7 separate regions of the Homo sapiens genome follow, and all the other regions are linked to region 1. Evidence: promoter capture Hi-C in 16 types of primary human blood cells and fetal thymus (Javierre and others, 2016). All regions are on one chromosome and are shown on one strand. The core of a region is centred on a gene start or on the middle of the fragment in contact, and the rest is flanking DNA. Distances in the headings are between cores, read along the strand shown.

Region 1 (2,734 bases), core at 43-2,542:
GCGGTCCGGTGCGCGGGCACGCACACGCCGGCGCGCAGGGCTGCCGCGGGCGGAAGGAGGGGAATGACAAGGCCTCGGCCGCGTCTCGGAGAGGCACTACCTCCGCGCTGAGGCCGCTGAGTTTCAAGTGCAAAACACCAGGCCAAATCCGGCAAGGCGGCGGCTACAGAATGGCTCACACTTCAAGCCTCCTTCCTCAAACAATCCGATGGGAAGGACCTGGCTGTTCAGGGGAAGCCTTTGCTGGCCTCTCTTTTTACATGGGGTGAAGTCGAACCCCAATCTAGGAGCCCTGGCCTAGATGGCTCCGCAGATGAGTCCCAGACGTGGCCATGGAAAGACTGATCTCTCTCTGCTCAGAGCGCCTGCCTCGGTGCTCACTAGCGCAAGCACCTCCCAACACACATACATACATACACACACACACACAACACAGCACTCCCATCACATTAAAACGCGCGCTCATGATCCTGCCGTTAATGAAGCCGAGGCGCATAATGAGTGCACAGGTAAATAGGTACCGAAACCAGAAGACTTCACCAGTCGGCTGGGCGATTTACCTCTCCCTACAGGGAGCACTTGTAGTTATCGTGTTTTAGGAGTGATTTGCTGTTGTCTGTGGTCTCTCGCTCCTCTTCTTGTGGAGAGAAGCCAAAAAATATATATGTTCCGTGGTCAGAGTCTTCTTTCTGATAAGCTACCCGAGCATTGGTCTAAAACATCTGTTTTATCTGTTGATTTTGGTTTGTTGTTTTGGGGAGTGTTGCTTTTCTGAGGGAAGCAAAAGAACGTGTGTGTGGTGGGGCTGGAAGCTCAGGGCAAGAGTCTGCGTGTGCGGCCGGAAGGCTGGCGAGTCTGAGAGCCGCGCGGTGCAGAAAGAAGGCGGCGGCTTGTCCTCCCCCGGGGCCGGCACTGGTCCCTTGGCACCCCGGCCTGGGCTCGGCTACTGCCGCCGCCGCCCGCGCTCTCGGGCTCCGCCGGCTGCCGCTCCGTGTTTTCCCCCATCCCGGCTTCACGTTCAAGGTTTAGCTGCGAGGTCACGTCCATTGACGTCAGCTCCCTGTCTCCCTCTACGTCCGGCTACATTTACATACATCAAGGAAATTAGGGCATTAAAAAAATATGCAAATCCTGCGCGAAGAGGAGCGGGTGCATTCCTGGCGCGATCGCCTTTTATTGAAGCTTTTAATTAAAGGGGCCAGTTGGCGAGCCCCTGAAACAACCGCCAAAACCCCCCAAAAGAGAAAAATAAACGCTGTAGCCTTCGAGAACGGTTGTTTCGGCTCCTGTTCTGTGGGCGGCTGAGGACCGCCGGCTGCCCGGCTCGGAGAAGAACAGGTTAGAGGAGGCAGCTCCAGCCCATGCATAATCAGGGCTCCGCGGCGCCTCCATTCTTTCCTCCTCCTCCTCCTCCTCCTCCTCCTCCTCCTCCTCCTCCTCCTCCTCCTCCTCCTCCTCCTCCTCTTCCACCTCTCCTCCTCCTCCTCCTTCTCCTCCACCTCCTCCTCCTCTTCTTGCTCTCGCTCCTGTTGGTTCCAGCGTGTATTATTTTTAATACTGATGCATATGTAAAGGTATATTTGCATTTTTTAATTTGCGAGAATTTCAGATTTTGTCATTTTATTGGTTCCCTTTCCCTCTTTTTTTTTTTGGAGGATTTTTATTGTTGTTATTTTATTATGTCTATGTGTCTCTCTTGTCCCTTTCTGTCTTTTTTGGCGAGTGTCTGCTGCTGTCTCTTGCTAGATAATATACACAGTTACCTCCCTGCTTCTGTTTATTTAAGGTTACAAATATGCACATCTGTCATGTATGCAATGCCAGCTGTATAACCTCCTGGTTTGGTCATAAAGGAAAATACACATTTTTTTTTCTTTCTTGACATACCTTGATGGGCTGTAGTGCCCATCGCTCAAGGCTCAAAGTTTGATTGTCTAATTAACTTCATATTAGCAGAAACACAGTTCGGGGCCAGTGCTTTCGAGATAATGTATGTATAAGTGAAGTGATTCCAAAGATTTCTAAATAATTTTTGTGCTGATTGCCTGAGAGGTGCGGCATTCCCCGCCCTATTGCTTTCTAGCATTTCTTATTGAAAAAAATATATATATTTTAAAATGGGTAGACACAGCAATGGACAGCCTTCTGCAAGGAAGACATTTTCAACCATGTTGTATGTTGTACCTTATTGGCTGCATTCAAAATTTACTGAGTTTCATTTTTATCTTAATATGGCTGGAAACAAGGCACATTATCTTGACTGAAAAGCATCCTTGATTCCTGACTTTGAAATGAAAGCAAATACACAAATAAAACAATTGGCTATATTAAACCAGTTGATGTGGCTTAAAATATACAGGCCTTGAGTTAGATTTCAAGCAATGGTAATCTTGTTTATAGGATCGGATTCTCTTTCTTGGCAATATAGCTATGCAGCACGATGGCTTTTTTCCACCTTTTAATTCCCCCAAGCTATCATTTAAAAAAGACTCAATCTATAATTGCAAACCCTGAAAGAACAGCAAGTATGCACACATGCAGCTTATTCAATTAAACAAGTCCAAGTACATGCACAGGTAATTAGTTTTCTTATGAATGACTTACCTGCACAGATACTCAGGCCAAGACTCAGCCCTCCCCAATGGCCTTCATGTATAAATATTCACATGTATTTCCCCCTATTTCAAACCTAAAGCGGTATGCCATCTTTCATGCTGGACTATCCAGCATCCAT
Region 2 (2,815 bases), core at 17-2,516, 1.6 Mb after region 1:
TAGATATAGAAACTTAAGAAATAGAGGGCTCTAGGAGGCTTTTAGTAATAGAATTTCTTCTACAACACTTGACAGATGATCATTCAATCTGGATTATCGTTGAGTGCCCTTAGTCAGTGATAAGGAGTTACAGTAATAGTCATTCCTTGTTGAATGGATCTAATTGTTATCAGAATTTTTCCCTGTTTCAACAGTTAGCAGCCCCATGCTGTCTACCGAATATTCCGAAGCCAAAAAAAGAAAAGTCTATTTTTCCCCCAACATGATAGGTTTTCAAATATTCAAACACTCCTTCCACGTACCCAGGTTTTTGGTTCCAAACCAAAGATTTTTCAGTTGTTTTCTTATAACATACTTTCCAGACGCTATACCTTCCCAGTTTCTCTTTGACACTCTCATATGATAATGTCCCTATTAAAGTGTATAAGCGTGGCTAACACCATGCTTCAACTAACACAGCCTAAAATTGCACACCTTAACAGTTACAACACATTTTTTCAAATCTCAGAGTGGTTTTAGGATTAACCATAATGCTAGGGTCTTTTCAGTATCACATTTTTTGACATTTTATATTACTTTAATAATCATAGGACTTTACGTTAATATCTGAAAATGTTAACTAATTGTTTTTAGTACCTCTTTCCAAAGAGTTTTAATTTTCAATCAGAATTGAGGCATACCCATTATACCTAAAGTTAATATTATTGTTAATTTTTATAACCTTGGAGCCTATTTCCAAAACCATAAAAAAGAATGTTTGAGTAACTAAAGTTAGAAAATTTCATTAGAGAAAGTCTCAGAAACTAACATTGGTGCATTAATCAACCAATTTTCTTTGCATTTTGTTGTACAGTCATATGCATTTCCAGTTATTTGTGTTATCACCAATTTCACATTTTATTACCCGTTCAAAAAGTATGTGAAGAGGGTTGTCAAATAACCAAGACACTCTACACCATGGAATAATGCTGACCCACCAATTTAGCAATTCATAAAGAAATGGAAATAACATTAGTTAGTAAGGACTTTTTGCTGGTGAATACATGCTGCCACCCAGAGATTACATTCCATATTTCAGTGCACTTTGTCCCAGTTTATTTCTTCACCCAAGAAAAAGGATAACAATTAATTCTCTACAGGTATGACCTTGGAATTTGGATTTTAACTGTTATGAAATGTAAAATTTTTAAAAGCTTAAACATTAATGAAATTTCTAAGAATAGTCAAAGCAAGAAACAGAAATCTAGTATGGTTACTCAGTCCCAGTGGAATCTGGATGTTTTCTTAGTGACATGAGGTTTATCTCTGAGGTAGTAAATCATAAGATATTCTGGAGAAGACAAGCTTCATTTAAACACATACCTTATTAATGTTATCCAAAGTTGCATGCGTATTTGTTTTTAAATGCCTTCTCTTTCTGTCAATATTTGCTAACTTTCTGGCAAATACGAATAGGCTAGTAGCAAAGTATTCTTCCTTAGTTATGATACTATGTATGGTGAACAAATAAATGAACAAATGAATAAGTAAAAGATGAAAGAAGGGAAGGAGAGGGAGGGAGGAGGGAGAAAATTGTCTATTGAATAAATTCGTCTTGTACTGTCTCTGTTGGACATAAATGCTTTTCTTACTGGCTTCCAGTAGGAAAGGAAATTAACTAAATGGAAGAGCACAAAGGTATTATGAAAGAGGTACATCAATGATGTGAGACACCACTACCCAAGTTTTTACACAAGTTCTGGGATAGACTTGACTAACTTTTTCCAAATAGATTTTTAATTTTCAACTGAGAGAGATAAACTCTTTGAAGTCTAGCCCGTGGACTAACACAGAAACATAACAAGCCAGTTAAGATACACTGGTCGGCCGGGCATGGTGGCTCACACCTGTAATCCCAGCATTTTGGGAGGTCAAGGCAGGAGAATCACTTGAGTCCAAGAGTTCAAGACCAGCCTGGGCAACATGGTGAAACTCTGTCTCTACAAAAAAATACCAAAATTGGCCAGCTGCAGTGGCACACACCTGTTGTCCCAGCTACTTGGGAGGCTGAGGCAGGAGGATCACTTCAGCCCAGGAGGCAGAGGTCACAGTGAGCTGAGACCACGCCACTGCACTCCAGCCTGGGCAATAGACCGAGACCCTGCCTCAAAAGAAGACACAGTGGCCGGTGGCCTACTTGTAACACTTTAGAAAGCCTAATTTAAATTATAAAAAATTATTTAAAATATTCAATTATTTAAAAAATATTATCTTAATAAAAAATGATTCTAACATAAAAGACTTAAAATATAAAACACACTTTAAAAAACAAAAAAATTGAGATTAATCAATTTCTAAATAAAAAGAAATTGAGCTAATATAACCACATAATAAATCAATTATGGTATAAGTAGACTATGTAGAGATTAACTGGTCTATAATGCTTACCATGATATTGTGGAGGTAAAGATAACAAAACAAGTCTTTTTGTCATTAACGTTTCTTCAATTTCAGGTTATAGGATAATCCAAAAGGCTTTTTAAATATTCTCAATTTTTCAGAAGTAGTTTATTTTGTAAGATTTCTCATCATGTGTATTCCTTTTTTTAATCTTTGCCCTCAACATTAAGAAAGTCATTTGATTGTTTTTAATTTGCAGTATTCTGCCAGCAGCAAATGTGAATGACAATATTACTTGCTTTTCCTTCCTCCTATTAAAGATTGCAAGCGTTAAAAAATTTGATTCCTATTTTTGTTTTGAGTCACTTTTGGCAAAGTTGGTAAGATGTTGATTGTGTAATGGGGAAGGGTTTTCTTCATCTTGGCTTAACTCTAC
Region 3 (2,700 bases), core at 22-2,521, 1.8 Mb after region 1:
GAGAACTTGTCTCTACAAAAAGTTAAAACAAGTATTAGCCAAGTGTGGTGGCATGCACCTGTAGTCCCAGCTACTTGGGGGTCTAAGGTGGGAGGATCACTTGAGCCAAAGAGGCAGAGGCTGCAATTAGCCTAAACTGCACCACTGCACTTAAGCCTGGAAGACAGAGCAAGACCCTGACACTCTGTCTAGGACACTGACTCTCTCCCTCTCTCTGTCCCCCCATGTATGTGTGTGTGTGTGTATATATATGCATTATAACTATTTTGCTAAAGCTTGTTTTTTGTTGTTTGTCTTTTGGGTGTTTTTTTTCTTAGTTGTTGCCTTTTCTTTGTGTATGTCTTATTTTTTAATTTTTAAATGTTTTATCTTTTTTTAAATTTCTGTGTTTATTTTAGATACAGGGGTACATGTGCAGGTTTGTTACATTGGTATATTGCACTCAGGTAGTGAGTGTACTACCTAATAGGTAGTTTGTTAACTCACTCCACCCCGTCCTCCCCTCCCGACTTTAGTAGTTCACTGTGTCTGTTGTTCCCATGTTTATGTCCATGTGTGCTCAGTGTTTAGCGCCCACTTATAAGTGAGAACATGCAATATTTGGTTTTCTGTTCCTGCATTTATTCACTTAGGATTTTCCTTTAGTTATGGAATTGTGGAGCTGCTAAGAAAGACTTTTCAATTATTGTAGACCTTTTCATTTGCATAACTGCAGATTTTTTATTATACTGGCTACATTATAAATTATTAACTAAAACATTTTAAAATTGGGAAACCAATAAAATGGAGCTTTATGTTGTATAGAAGAATGCCAAAGTGAATGTTTACAGTTTGTTTTTCTTTAGTAATTTCATTCAGTAAATAGTTATCTATTATTGCCAGACATTGTGCTGACAGGAATAAAACTGAGCAAAGTGGGAATAATCCTTGTCCTCATGGAGCTTGTAGTCAAATGGGGTAAAATCACTAAAGAAAAACACACTGTCCTCATTGGGAAGGGTTCTTTGAGGACATGGAATTGGAGTTGAGATTGAAGGATGAATAGGAGTTTACTGAGACATAGTTGTGGGAGAGGAAGTAGGGAAATACCAGGTTTGTGAGAGAAAATCAGAAGTTCAGTTCAAAGATGTTACTTATGGTTCCTTTGAAATATACAAATATAAATGTTAAATATATTCTTGGATACAGGGGAATGGACCTCAAAATGGAGATAGCAGTCATTATCAGAGATATGATCATTGAGACCAAGAGAAAGGATGAGATGGTCTAGGGCAGAATTAGATAATTAGAAGAAAGGAGAGCCTAACCCTGAGCTTACAGGAATGCCAACATTTAATGGGCTGGTAGAGGAGATTGAATGGCAAAGAAGGGAACTGGAAAGAGAGAGGGAGGAGGAGAACCAGGAGAGCAGAGTTACACAAGGTAGTCTGGTATTTCGGAAGGTGGTCAACAATGTTAAAAGATGTTAGACATTGCTGCTAAGAGGTCAGATAGGACGAAGACTGGAAAATGTTCACTCGTTTTTGACATGTTGGTTATTGTGACCTCAGTGAGAGCTTTTTGAAAGATTCACTGAGGTAGAATCCAGATTGGAATGGCTTAACCGGTAAATGGAGCTTAGGAAATGGAGACAGCTAGCATAGATGAGTCTTCTTAGAATTTTGCTATGAAGAATGAAGAGTGAAAAAGGAAGGTAGTCAGAGAGGTTAAGAACAGTGGGGTTATCAACTAAGAGAAGAGAAGAGAAGGAATTCCTATTCCCCGTTTTAACACCTTTATTGAGATATAATTGACATACAATACAATGCACATATTTGAAGTACATACACAATTTACATTTTTTGCACATGTGTATTTAAGGCAGAGTATTTTTATTTTATTTTAAAGATACAGTATATAATCATATTTAGCTTGCATAAAGAATATTTTGAAATATGACAATTTATCTTCTGTCTTTTATACCGTTGGTTTTTATTGGGCAAATATATTATTTTCATAATAAAATACATGTGCATGAATGATACTGGTCATGTCCTAGAGGATCACACATCTGTAGTTGACTTTAAAGCTGAGAAAAATGTGTTCATTTTGGAAGAGTTAATGTTTTCAAATATGTTATCCCTGGGATTTTATACCCACATTAATCAGTAAAAGCTCCCAAAGTGTCAGGATTTCCATTTGTTAATAAACAAAGCAACAATGAAACTTTCTCATTTTGCTCTAGTATTTTTTATTACATATTGTGTAATTTTTATGTCTTGTTTCTGATAAGCTTGTACTGTCCTTTATGTTAAGATGTCCTCCATTAATTTACATGGAAGTAAACAGTAACAACAGAGTCAAAGGCTGAAAACAGTTGTTTCTTGAAGAACCAGCTACTGCCATGTGTTAAAAGAAACTATTCAAATATATGCAGATACTTGGCCAAAGATGGAAAAAAAAAATAAGTTTACTTACCTGGCCATATTCTCTAGTATCCCTTCAACAAAGGTTTATGTTATGAAATTAAATAATTTGATAAAAAGTTCTTAGAAAAAGACTTCATGATGTAAGTAGAATACATTCTTAGCTAATGTTTTTTGGCATTAATATTATAATAATTTATTGAGATCTTGTTCATATGTGATGCTATATTTTATGTGTTACAGTTCATATTAAACAGTCTTTGCCCTCGAGGGGGTCAGAGAAAGTTACCCATCA
Region 4 (2,775 bases), core at 275-2,774, 1.9 Mb after region 1:
AATACTGTAAAGTCATTGGCTTCAAACTTCCTGGGATGGAAATGTTTGTAATCCAGGCTTAGGTTTTACAAGTTTCAAATTGATGGAGGATTGTAGAAGTTGGGGGAATAATAGAGCATGTTCAGGTATTTTGGTTGCAAATTAAGGCTCTTATTTTAATATAATTTTGTACAGTCCTTGAGGCCCTGTGGAAAATTGTTAATTGAAGGGATTGAATGTCTAAAAAATATTAAATATCTTGTTTTAGTTTGGTAAATGGCTCCTGGTAGTGACAATAGATAATATGACACGCAAATACCTTGCAAATGGGAAAGAGGTAGTACTTAGTTGGACCATAAGTGATCTTCCGGAGCTCTGCCTAATTCATTTGAGCATCACATATATATTTTTTATTATTATACTTTAAGTTCTAGGGTACATGTGCACAACGTGTAGGTTTGTTACCTAGGTATACATATGCCATGTTGGTTTGCTGCACCCATTAACTCGTCATTTACATTAGGTATTTCTCCTAATGCTATCCCTCCCCCTTCCCCCCACCTCACAACAGGCCTTGGGGTGTGATATTCCCCACCCTGTGTCCAGTTGTTCTCATTGTTCAGTTCCTACCTATGAGTGAGAACATGCAGTGTTTGGTTTTCTGTCCTTGTGATAGTTTGCTGGGAATGATGGTTTCCAGCTTCATCCGTGTCCCTGCAAAGGACATGAACTCATCATTTTTTATGGCTGCATACTATTCCATGGTGTATATGTGCCACATTGTCTTAATCCAGTCTATCATTGATGGACATTTGGGTTGGTTCCAAGTTTTTGCTATTGTGAATAGTGCAGCAATAAACGTACATGTGCATGTGTCTTTATAGTGGCACGATTTATAATCCTTTGGGTATATACCCAGTAATGGGATGGCTGGGTCAAATGGTAGTTCTAGTTCTAGATCCTTGAGGAATTGCCACATATTTAGCCAGAATAATAAAATGTTTATTTTTCTTCATATCATTGGTAAATTCACACAATTCCATTTTGTGTCAAAAGTAATAAATGAAAGTGAGAACCAGAAAACAGCACATTGTGAACAAAATTAAATAAAGACCTACTTCTTTTTAAAAACAAAAATTAAAAAAAAGATGCATTAAAAAAACATTCAAAATATCCTTTCACTTAGAAGCAAGGGAAAACCCGGCCGAGCGCAGTGGCTCACGCCTGTAATTCCAGCACTTTGGGAGGCCGAGGCGGGTGGATCACCCGAGGTCGGGAGTTCAAGACCAGCCTGACCAACATGGAGTAATTTCGTCTCTACTAAAAAATACAATAATTAGCCGGGCGTGGTGGTGCATGCCTGTAATCCCAGCTACTCAGGAATCTGAGGCAGGAGAATCACTTGAACCTGGCGGTGGAGGTTGCAGTGAGCCAAGATCACGCCGTTGCACTCCAGCCTGGGCAACAAGAGTGAAACTCCATCTCAAAAAAAAAAAAGCAGCAAGGGAAAACGAATTCTTGTAAATAAGCCTTGTGTTAAATAGGAACTCATATCTGTGGCAATAGGCTTTTTAGAATTTCATAATATAACAGACTTTTTAGAATATCATACCACTAGGAACTCCACTTACCAAACCTGAGATGCAGCCAAAACTATACATGAAGCAAAACCGTATCTTTTAAATAATAAAAAGTAACTTGGTTTTCAATTTATGAATCTTAAAAGAATACCGTACTAAACCAATCAGGATAGAGAATTGATAAAGATTAAAAATGAAATTGATGAATTAGAAAACAGAAAAACATTGGACTTAATCCCAGATCAAAATAACCAAATAAAGTCAGTAGTCTTATAACTTCATTTTACAGAAGAGGAAGTAGACTCAGACGTTAACAATAGACTCAAACATTAACAGCCTGCTCATAGTTGCCCTGCTGGTAAGTATCAGAGTACTCTAAGGGCATAGATGCTAGGCTCTGCTGCATTTTTTTCAGTGTGAAGATTGGAATTATCCAACTGGCCAATTAGTCTAAATTCTGGGTAACAGTTTATAGCTTTAATGGCTAGAAAGTGGTTTGCAAGTGATACTGCTGGAGGCTATAATTGCTTGAGGAAGCCAAGGAAATATAGTAAAAACCAGCAGTCATTTGGGGATTGCTGGAGGCTTGGACAATAAGGGTATACAGGCATCACTACAGCCTGGAACATTATGATCAAGAGCCTTATTAACAGAAGAAATAATGAACGTAGACACATGATTTCAGAGAATATTTGAAGAGGAAAATCTGAAATTGTTAATTAGCCTTTTGGCAACACATCTCCATAAATGTATGCTGTAATGATCCTGTATTCCATTAATTCTTTTAGACTCCCGTATGTGTATCCTATTCATCATCCAATTAGATTCCATTCCCAAATTCTGCAGATTTACAATACAACATCCTGACAATGTTTCGATGCCTGGTACAGTTTTTAATATGTCGGTAGATAGATGGAAGGAAGTAAGTTTGTTTGATTTAACGGAAAACAGTAAGAAATTTTCGAAAGGGGAGAGGGGTGCTATACATAATGACTTCCTTCCAAAGTAGTTGGTATGGAAAAGAGGGCAAGAGTAACTTTGCAGTGGAGCACCCTGACAAATACCACCTCGGCCAGGTAACCAAGCTCGACACCAATAGTGATAAGTCATGTTGATAGTATGTACCTTTTGTATAAGTGATGAGAAAGTCTTTTTGCCTTTTTGGTCTTCCCCAAAACCCATAACCCCAGTCTAATCATGAGAAAGTTATCAGACA
Region 5 (3,009 bases), core at 13-2,512, 1.9 Mb after region 1:
TCTCGAAGTATTATCCTACTTTTACTTTTGGGGGGTAAGAGAGAGTAGATATTGCCTGAACTTGATTTTGCTGCTTTGGTGAAATTCCTTTACGCATGCCTAAACTTAGATATGTGAAACCTAGGATATAAAAAAATACCATTTTCAAGGGAATATAAAGATCTTTTCACAAGATTTATAAGGTTTACTTAGTATGCAAGACTAATTAAATTGGAATAGGAAGGAAAATTGTATGACATCAGTACTTTTCTTATTGGGTTTAAGAAAACTAATTTATCTTTACTGTGTGAAATTTGGAGCTACTGGGTTGATTTTGATGAAGATTACTGTAGGAGAAAAGGCTTACATTCTACCATTGTTGCTTTTAGGCAGAATTGGGAATTGGGCTTTGTCTTTAGAACCTTAAGCTTTCCTTTCAACACCCTTATCTCTCAGTGGCACCTGACACCTCCCACCTCCAGGTGCCTAGTAATGCTTTTCCTTTCTTTTTTTCTTTCTTTCTTTTTAAATCAAAGCCTTTGAAGAACAAAGGATCTCTAAGATGTAATGATGGATGAGGTTTAAAGTATCTCTGATTCAGGCATATTTGTATTTTACATGGGATCAAGTCTTATGTTTTGTAAGGTTGGATTGTGAAATATAAAGAAATGAAAAATGGGCTCTGGGAAACTTTTTAATATGACAGGCTTTCAGGCCCTTCCTTCCTTTTCCTTCCTCCCTTCCTTCCATCCCTCCCTTCTTACCTCTTCCCTCCCTCCCTTCCTCCTTTCCTTCCTTCCTTCATGTACTGAGTTTCTACTATATCCCAGAGACTATTCTAGCTACTGAGTATAGAGCAGCAAATGACAGAGACATGCAAGCTACCCCCATGCAGCTTTCATTTTTATGGGGAGACAAAAACACCTAAATATCTTAATAAGTAAATGGGATATTTATTAGGGATAAGTTATAGAAATTACATAGAAGAGGGTAGTGGCTGAGAGTGGCGGTGAAAGTTATCAGGGCAGGTGCTTCCAAGGAAGAGATAGTTGAGCTACCCCTCAAATGAGGTCTATGATAGAAAGAGCCAGCCATATGAAGCTCTGCAGAAGCAGTGTGCCTGGCAGAGGAAAAAGCTTGTGCAAAGTCTTGGAGGCAGGAATGATTTTGCTGTGGTTGAGACAAAGAAAGAAGCGTCAGTGTGATAGGAATACAGTGAAATGGAGGGAAAGTGGTACTAGATGAGGCTGGAGAAGAAAAGAGAAATAGAATTATGTGAGGTCTCTTGGTCCATGTTAAGAAGTTTGGATTTAAGTTCAATGAGCATTTGTTTAATAATTTCAGCATTTGAGAGTATCTACACTACTTTGTCAAGTATTTGTACCACAATTACCAACTATGTTGTTTCTTGTGGTTTTATTCTTCAAAGCAAAGCTTTTTGGAGAAGCCTTCAGCAATCCATACACTCTCTTCTTCCTAGAGATTTCTAGCACTTGAGTGGCTTGTTTTTTGCATGGCATATTCTGCTTTTCGGTTGATTAACTTTCACCCCAGAAAGAGTGCAAATTAATAAACTTAGGGTGGTTTTAGAGATCACTGTTTTTCCCACAGTGCCTTACAGAGTCTTCTGCTTCCTAAACACTTAGTAATAATTGTTAATTACCTAGTTCCCTGAGGTAGATTGGGTGAGGGTGTAAATTTTCATTTACTCATCACAGTGCCTAGGGTAATGTCATACACAAAGTAAATATGCAAGCTGAGGAAGTCCAGTTGTGGGGAATGTGTTTAATCATGGGACTTGGTGAAACAAAAATTAAGATGGAATATTTGGTTGGTAGACGTTGACTTTGCCAGGGTATTTAGCCACAAATAAAGCCTTTACAAACGCTAATAAAACAACACTGTGGGTTGAATATACATTTTAGTAAGACGTTTTAAATAATCAGGAAGAAAACATTTTTCTGTTATTGTTTTCTGTTTTACATGTGACTACATGGATAATTGATTCACAGTTTTCACTTTAAGTTGCTTTGAAGTTACCGTTCATATATGGCAGGATTTAGTAAGCATGTCTGTCTGTGTCTACTCCGTTGATATGCTCGTGGATTTAAAGCCTCCAGACCCAGGTCCGACCTTTGTTGTTGAGCCTCACAGGAAAGCTGTTCAATCTCCTGGATCACCTAGGTTGCTATTCTCCCCACCTTTTGCAGCGCCTTGATGTGTCATTTGCATTCCCACACGGTTTCTGTATAAGAATCATTTAGTCTCAACAAACTTGCCGTTTGATACCCAGCTGTTTGTTGAGTATTGCAGCTTTCAGAGGAGGTGCTCAGCAACAGCTCATAATAACGCTAAATGAGTGCCCCTGGACGGCAGTATGTAACACAAAGTATCTAGTTATTCCTATTCCAATTAAGAAGAGTACTTGTGTGAGCTGCATTTAAAATGAGGAGGCTGAGAACCCATTTTTTTTTTCTATAAAAAGCGGTGAGTTGCTGTGGGAGTGCTAATCTTTCTCTTTGCTCCCAGTTTGAAACTTCCGTGATTCTAATAATGCTGCATTTGCTTTAAAAATCTCTGGTGCAGGCGGGGATGTGCACATTGCTGATGGTATGGTCTGACATTGAGCCTTTACCTTTGTGTACTGGGAAAGATAAGCAACATTTGCTGAGGGTTTACCACGTGCCAGGTGTACTGTAAAGAGTTGCACTTCACACAGTCTCATTCATCTACTCCTAACAGCCTTATGAGTAATTAATAATCCTATTTTATAAATGAGGAGACAGACAATTTATCCCAGATGTTGACCTAAATCCCTGCTTTGTAAGTTCAGTTGAGGGTAGATCCTTCCTTTCTAATATTTCATCAATTTATGCTCAAATTCTTATGGGGTAAACTTAGGGAGAGCTTCGGTAAACGTGAAACGAAACATTCTCTTAGGAACGAAAAAAGACTCAGTAAATGGGTTTTTTTTCCCTGAAAGAAAACTAGGAATTGCTTACAGTGGAGTACCCAGGGCAGTGTGCACCA
Region 6 (2,949 bases), core at 57-2,556, 1.7 Mb after region 1:
ACACTATGACAAACATGGTAAGAACGTAATACAAAATCTGTAATACTCCAAACTACTTTCAAGAATCTTACAAATTGATGTAGTGATCTTTAACCTTTGCAGTTAAATAGCCATGTCTGAATATCTTAGGAAAGCTATGATCCCTCTCTCTTTCCAATAAATACAGTTCAAATATATAAAATTATTAATCAGTTTAGCCAGTGTGCACCTTCACTGAAGAACTCCCGATTTAGACTGAGGCATCTAGACCAAATAGGAAGCAAGAGTATGTTCTTAAGAACTGTATTAAGAGAAAAAACATAAAACAGCCTTAGAATGATTTGATTACAAATCATTTTAACAGTGTAATACATCCATGATTAAAATATTCAAAATCCAAAAAGTACTTGTTACTTAAAGATCTAGAACTTTTTCTTGATCTGTAAAATTTCAATACTCAAACTGCAAATTTTAAGTTTCATATATAAGTTTGAAAACCACAAAACACTTAATTTTTATATTGTTTATATACAAAAACTTTAAACTATAATAGCATTTCAAAAGTATTTAAAATACGGTCAGCCTTCTGTAACCACAGGTTCCTCACATCTGCAGATTCAACCAACTGCAGATGAAAAATATTTGGGAAAATAACACAATAAAAAATAATACAAATAAAATAAAGTATAACAATTTACATAGCATTTACATTGTATTAGGTATTATAAGTAATCTAGAGATGATTTAACGTATACAAGAGGATATGTGAAAGTTATATGAAAATACTATGCCATTTTATACAAGGGACTTGAGCACCATAGATTCTGGCATCCTTAAGCGACTTGGAACCAATCCCCTGTGCTTATCAAGGGACAACTGAATTCCATGATTCATACCTAAAAACACACTACTTAAACCCAAGAAAGTAAAAATTAGAAAGTGGCTCAGGAAATTAAACTAGCTACTTTACTTTAATTGTCTTGTAGACAATTAAAAGACAATCTTCTATATCTCTGTGCATTTGATTTTATAACCTTCTCTATTAACAATATCTTATATCAAGTTCCTATATCTAATAAATCTACCACAATGCCTAGCTTAAAATAAGCTTTGGTAAAACATTTATTGAATCAAGAAAATATGACACTTTGTTTCCTTTTATACTGCCTTCTTTAACAAAATTTTTCATACATCAACCATTTCATAGAGCAAATCTTATTACAAGTTGCTAACAATAAGAATTTTACAGAACTAAGTAGATTAAGTACCTTAGAGACCATCTGGCTTTGAAGGGGAAAAGCAAATCTTAGAATTGGAAGTTCCAACTGAGTATGTTGCTAATACACTGCTTCCTATAATAGCATGTAATTTTTAAAACTCCATAAACATAGAAGTCTAGTTAATATTTTACTTCATAGCCCGAAAGGCAATACAATATTACGTTTAAAAGCACATTCTTTGCCATTTTGGAGATTTGATTTTGAGTTCTGGCTCTACCATGTACAGTATTAGCTTTGTGATAACCTGGGCAGATTAATAATCTCTCAAAGCTTTAGCTTCCTCATCTCTATATATGCATCTATTATACACATGTATAGGTATAATACTATATCTACTTTACAAGTTATTATGGAAATTAAGTGACATAATTAATGCTAATATCCAATATAGTAGCTGCTAAATAAATGTTAAAAAACATCATCATTATTTAAAAGATTATCCATTCTGGCTTTTCAAAACGTTCCTTTCATTTTTTCCAAAAGATGTGCTGTGTTTTATTTTATATATGCTGTTGAGGGGGCAGGGGGAAGTGACTCTTTCTGTATCATTACCACAGCTTTATGTCTATCTTGTAGTACATCTTATTTACCTTTAACTTCACATTCACCATGTTTATTATTCTATATACCCAATATTTTTAAAATTTCATTGCTCTTAGATACTGAAAAGCATGAAAAAGTCACAAAGAGAGAAGAACACTAAAGTCCACAAAAAAGACAGCAAGGTCTAATCTTTAGCAGTTTAACATACAAATAAAGTGGTTTTTATCTCAACAAAACTTAGTTTCCAGCCAAAAGATTCCATATTAAGTGTATGAAAGTATCAAAACAATTTGTTTCTCTAAATGCTATAGGCCTTCAATGGAAGTCTCATGATTCATAGAGCGTTATGGGAAGCTTTTGGGAAAAAGATGGTGTTTAATATTTACCTGAGAGAATGAATCACATTTTAGCAGGCAGAAATTAACAATTAGAGCATTCTAAGATTAAGAAACAGCAGGATGAAACGAATAGCATAAAAATGTGTTTTCAGGATAGCATATGTTGACAAAATGTGTACATACAGGAGGTGAGGGTTAAAGAAGAAAAGTGAAAGAATACACTGGAAAGTAAAATCAGTTACTCAAGGTGGGATAGATCATAGAAGGCTTTGAACTTTACTCTGTAGGCACTGAAGAATCGTTTCAAGTGTCTAAACACAGAAATGGCATTATCAAATGTATATTTTAGGAAAAGAATGATACCAAGAGACTGAAGAAGAGATTAGAGACTTTTATATGCCGAAAGGGCAATTAGGACACTACAAGAGACTGCAAAGTGAAAGCAAGAACCACATCTGCCTTTTTCATTGTGTAGCACCAGTCAACACGCAGGACACTGCACCCAGTAGGCAGCCAAGGCAAGAATAAATGAGGCCATTATAACATTCCTAACTAGAAATTAGGGCCTGAACTAGGACAGCCACAATGGACAAAGATAAAAACAGATTCAAAACATTTGAAGGGGAAAATCAATAGAACTTAGAACTTAGCATGTAGGTTGAGGGAGAAGCCATTAAAGACTGAAATTATATTGAAAGGCTGAAATTTTGGTGGTTTCACCTTCAGAGAAAAGTGAAGGACCTTCTTGAAGTATAATTGGTTTTAGAGATCTGCTTCATTCTAAATTGAATATGTGAATTATTTAGACA
Region 7 (2,882 bases), core at 225-2,724, 1.9 Mb after region 1:
AGTCAGATATACTTCAGGAATCCAAAGCTGTTTATAAATGCTAGTAATTAATTCATGGATCTTAAACATGACTTGAAAACAACCATCTTCAAGTCTTCATCCATGCAGACACGATGAAAACTAGCCTCACAAATACTATCCTTATACTCTTTAGCTAGGTGGTTGGTACATGTAGAAAGGAACAGTTACATCTTTATATTTAAGTAGACTATAATTTGAAATGCTTTGTTTCCCATGTCTCTTATAATCACTACTGTCACATAGGCAAATCAGTGCAGGTGAATTCCCCCAGAACCTGCATCCTGCTTGTTTTCGTGCCTACTTCTCCAGAGATTTAAGATGATAAGACAGTATGTAATTAAGTTCACTAAACCAAAGGAAAACCTGAGGCATGACCCAGTCTATGGAATTGGGTGATGATAGATAGTGATCACCCAGAAGTGGAGAGCAAGTCAAAATGGAGTACAGAGAGTGGACGTCCAGTTTGATTTCTTAGGTCTTCAGCAGTGCATTCACAGAGACAGGAAAGATAGGGAGTGGGGAAGAATAAAAGGATAATGGGAGAGGCAACAGCATCTTCTCTTTCTAGTCTAGGTCTTTCCAGATAGAGACCACTTCTGTGACAATCCTCAGCTTAGTCAACACTATCTGACAAAACCAAGCAAGAATTTCAAAAGCAAAACTTCCGTGCTCATTTAAAGAATAATAGTGAGGTGTACATGCATACCTAAAATGAAGGTAGTTGCTTATCTGACAAAATATAGACAGAAATTACATCTGTTCATTCAACAAATGTTAATTAAGCAGCAACTGTGTTTCAAATCCTGCTTTAATAAAGCATCAGGGACATGCAATGAACAAACAAACCCAAATCTTTGCCCTCTTGGAGCTTATGTTCTTGTGATGAAAGATAAAAACAAAATAAATAAATGAAATTGTGTTAGATGGTGATAAGTGAATGGAGGAACACTGAATAGGGTAGGAGCTGCAGTGTTTTGGGTTGGGGGAGAGTCTCCACCCTATGAAAATTCTCTATCCCTGAGAGAGGAACTGTGCCTAGAGTATTGGAGGAACAACAAAGATACCAGCATGGCTGGAGCAGATTGCCGAAGCAGCGAGCAGTAGGAGAAGAGGTCAGATAGAGCCAAATGGGAAAGGACTCTGTCAGCCACTGCAAGGACTTGGGCTTTCACCCTGAGCAAGATGGGAAACGATTGGAGGGTTCTGAGCAGAGGAGGTCATCATCTACCCTTTAAAAGGATCCCATAGGAAAGTGGAGGCAGCAGCAAGGAGATCAGTTAAGAGGAAATTGTAGTAATTCAGGCAAGAGGGAAGATGTCTCAAATTAGGGAAAAACATCAAGTATCACATTGATGTGGGTTAAAAATACTTGATTTAAGAATTTTTTCAAAGCCCCCGACTCTATGAGGATGCTCAATTTTAGTTTTAAAGATATTTTTCACTAGTTCCTTCTTGCATACTTTGATTAGTGACTCTGTACTAGGGCCTGTTTTCCACATTAATTCTAAATAAGCCAGATTTACCACTGTAGCAATTGTTGGATCTAAGTAAAGTTTCCATTCTGCCCTCTCACCATGTTTTCTTTTATTTACAGTTAAGATTGAGCTGAATTTTTTCCCCTTATTCCAAGCCTTAATCCTATCTGGCTTCTAAATCCCTTCAGAATTATTTGAAGCAAAGAATGCCTGCTGATTTCAAAAAACATTTTACACTTGGACTTACTTGATGGGGTATATAGCAAGGGTCGTGGAGGCTTCCTTCCTTTCCATGCAGAAAAATGTGTTTGGAAATGTATATACTAATCAATGAGCAATCTGTTAGTAAGAAACATACAGAAGCTCATTTCTTTGATTTGTTGTTTTGAAAAGTACTTATTTTTCTTTGGAGTATTTTTCAGTTTAAAATCTAATCTGTTATTTTGTAGAATAATCAATTTATATTAGTTGAAACTTGATTAACTTTCCTTTTATTACCCTGTCCTTAAGATCATACTACAGATTTGGTTATATATCACATAACAATATAAATGAACACTTGTTTTATAAAGATTTCTAATTCTATTGTTTCAGTCATTTCATTGAAAGATAAATATTACTACACCAATCTTCTAAGGAAAATTTCTTGTGTGTTATTCCTGGCTTTGTATAAGATAATGTTTATAGGCATTGTATGTAATGCTGATGCAATAGAAGGCATTATATTTAAAAAGAATGGCTTTACTGTATACAAATATTAGGATTGCTTGTAAGGCAAAGCCATAAAAGCATTGCGTAATCTATTCTAATAAAATAGATACGCTAGCCCTTTGACTTTATTTGGTTTTAGCAACTGAACAGGATAGAGTTTCGAAATGAATATGGTGAAAATAGACAAAAGGATTTATAGTAAATTTTTTCCTCCTGCTCTGTGTTACCTCCCATGAGCCTTGTTCACCTTTTTCTCAATATCTGCCATTACTCATTAAAATTCTGGTTTCATAAAAACTACAAGTAGAGACTGCTGTTGCTTGTTGTATGTGTGTAATGACAGCACTCAAATGCATTGCTAAAGGACTGGAAAACACAAGCAAGGATTATGATAAGAATGGTAACAACAACCACTTTCAACATGTATAAAGTTAAGGCAGTCTGCGCAAAACTGACATTTTGATAACTATACAAGGTGTTGTCAAAGTATGATCTCAGAACCCCTGCCAATCCCCAAGACTCCTTAGTAGGGTCCTCAAGTACTTTCACAATAATTCTAAGAAGTTATTTGCCTTGTTCACTGGGTTATCACTTGCACTCAGGTTACTCTTGTACAGCCATGGGAGATGAGCCCACAGAGAGCCAAATGGGATAGGACTTTGTTAGCCACTGCAG

What was found. Contacts are between HindIII fragments. The CHiCAGO score rates a contact against its expected background, and 5 or more counts as called.
Region 2: a contact is called between a fragment that was not itself captured here and the fragment with the promoter of MEF2C-AS2 in region 1, in 1 of 17 cell types (naive B cells). The highest score is 9.8, in naive B cells.
Region 3: a fragment that was not itself captured here is called in contact with the fragment with the promoter of MEF2C-AS2 in region 1 in 1 of 17 cell types (neutrophils); the score reaches 5.2 in neutrophils.
Region 4: a fragment that was not itself captured here is called in contact with the fragment with the promoter of MEF2C-AS2 in region 1 in 1 of 17 cell types (neutrophils); the score reaches 5.3 in neutrophils.
Region 5: a fragment that was not itself captured here is called in contact with the fragment with the promoter of MEF2C-AS2 in region 1 in 2 of 17 cell types (total B cells and naive B cells); the score reaches 8.0 in total B cells.
Region 6: a fragment that was not itself captured here is called in contact with the fragment with the promoter of MEF2C-AS2 in region 1 in 4 of 17 cell types (naive B cells, total B cells, monocytes and 1 more); the score reaches 10.1 in naive B cells.
Region 7: a fragment that was not itself captured here is called in contact with the fragment with the promoter of MEF2C-AS2 in region 1 in 2 of 17 cell types (naive B cells and total B cells); the score reaches 8.8 in naive B cells.

The regions. Positions count from the first base shown.
Region 1 is chr5:88,674,926-88,677,659 of GRCh38, forward strand. It overlaps MEF2C-AS2 (MEF2C antisense RNA 2), which reads left to right and starts at 1,293. Exons shown (of 4, transcript NR_146284.1): 1 at 1,293-1,338. The region is part of intron 1 of MIR9-2HG (MIR9-2 host gene); the gene reads right to left. RefSeq lists enhancers at 265-364, 802-1,367. The HindIII fragment of the contact is 5,913 bases long and covers 1,181-2,734 here.
Region 2 is chr5:90,307,965-90,310,779 of GRCh38, forward strand. No RefSeq gene overlaps it. Among named protein-coding and RNA genes, the nearest start is that of LINC01339, 19 kb to the left of the region's middle. The HindIII fragment of the contact is 151 bases long and covers 1,192-1,342 here.
Region 3 is chr5:90,497,927-90,500,626 of GRCh38, forward strand. The region is part of intron 5 of POLR3G (RNA polymerase III subunit G); the gene reads left to right. Among named protein-coding and RNA genes, the nearest start is that of POLR3G, 24 kb to the left of the region's middle. The HindIII fragment of the contact is 1,997 bases long and covers 274-2,270 here.
Region 4 is chr5:90,599,774-90,602,548 of GRCh38, forward strand. All of the region lies in intron 1 of ADGRV1 (adhesion G protein-coupled receptor V1), which reads left to right. Among named protein-coding and RNA genes, the nearest start is that of ADGRV1, 42 kb to the left of the region's middle. The HindIII fragment of the contact is 7,323 bases long and covers 1-2,775 here.
Region 5 is chr5:90,555,388-90,558,396 of GRCh38, forward strand. No RefSeq gene overlaps it. Among named protein-coding and RNA genes, the nearest start is that of ADGRV1, 1.9 kb to the right of the region's middle. RefSeq lists an enhancer at 2,030-2,531. The HindIII fragment of the contact is 298 bases long and covers 1,114-1,411 here.
Region 6 is chr5:90,396,285-90,399,233 of GRCh38, forward strand. The region is part of intron 4 of CETN3 (centrin 3); the gene reads right to left. Among named protein-coding and RNA genes, the nearest start is that of CETN3, 12 kb to the right of the region's middle. The HindIII fragment of the contact is 442 bases long and covers 1,086-1,527 here.
Region 7 is chr5:90,532,843-90,535,724 of GRCh38, forward strand. No RefSeq gene overlaps it. Among named protein-coding and RNA genes, the nearest start is that of LYSMD3, 4.7 kb to the left of the region's middle. The HindIII fragment of the contact is 7,271 bases long and covers 1-2,882 here.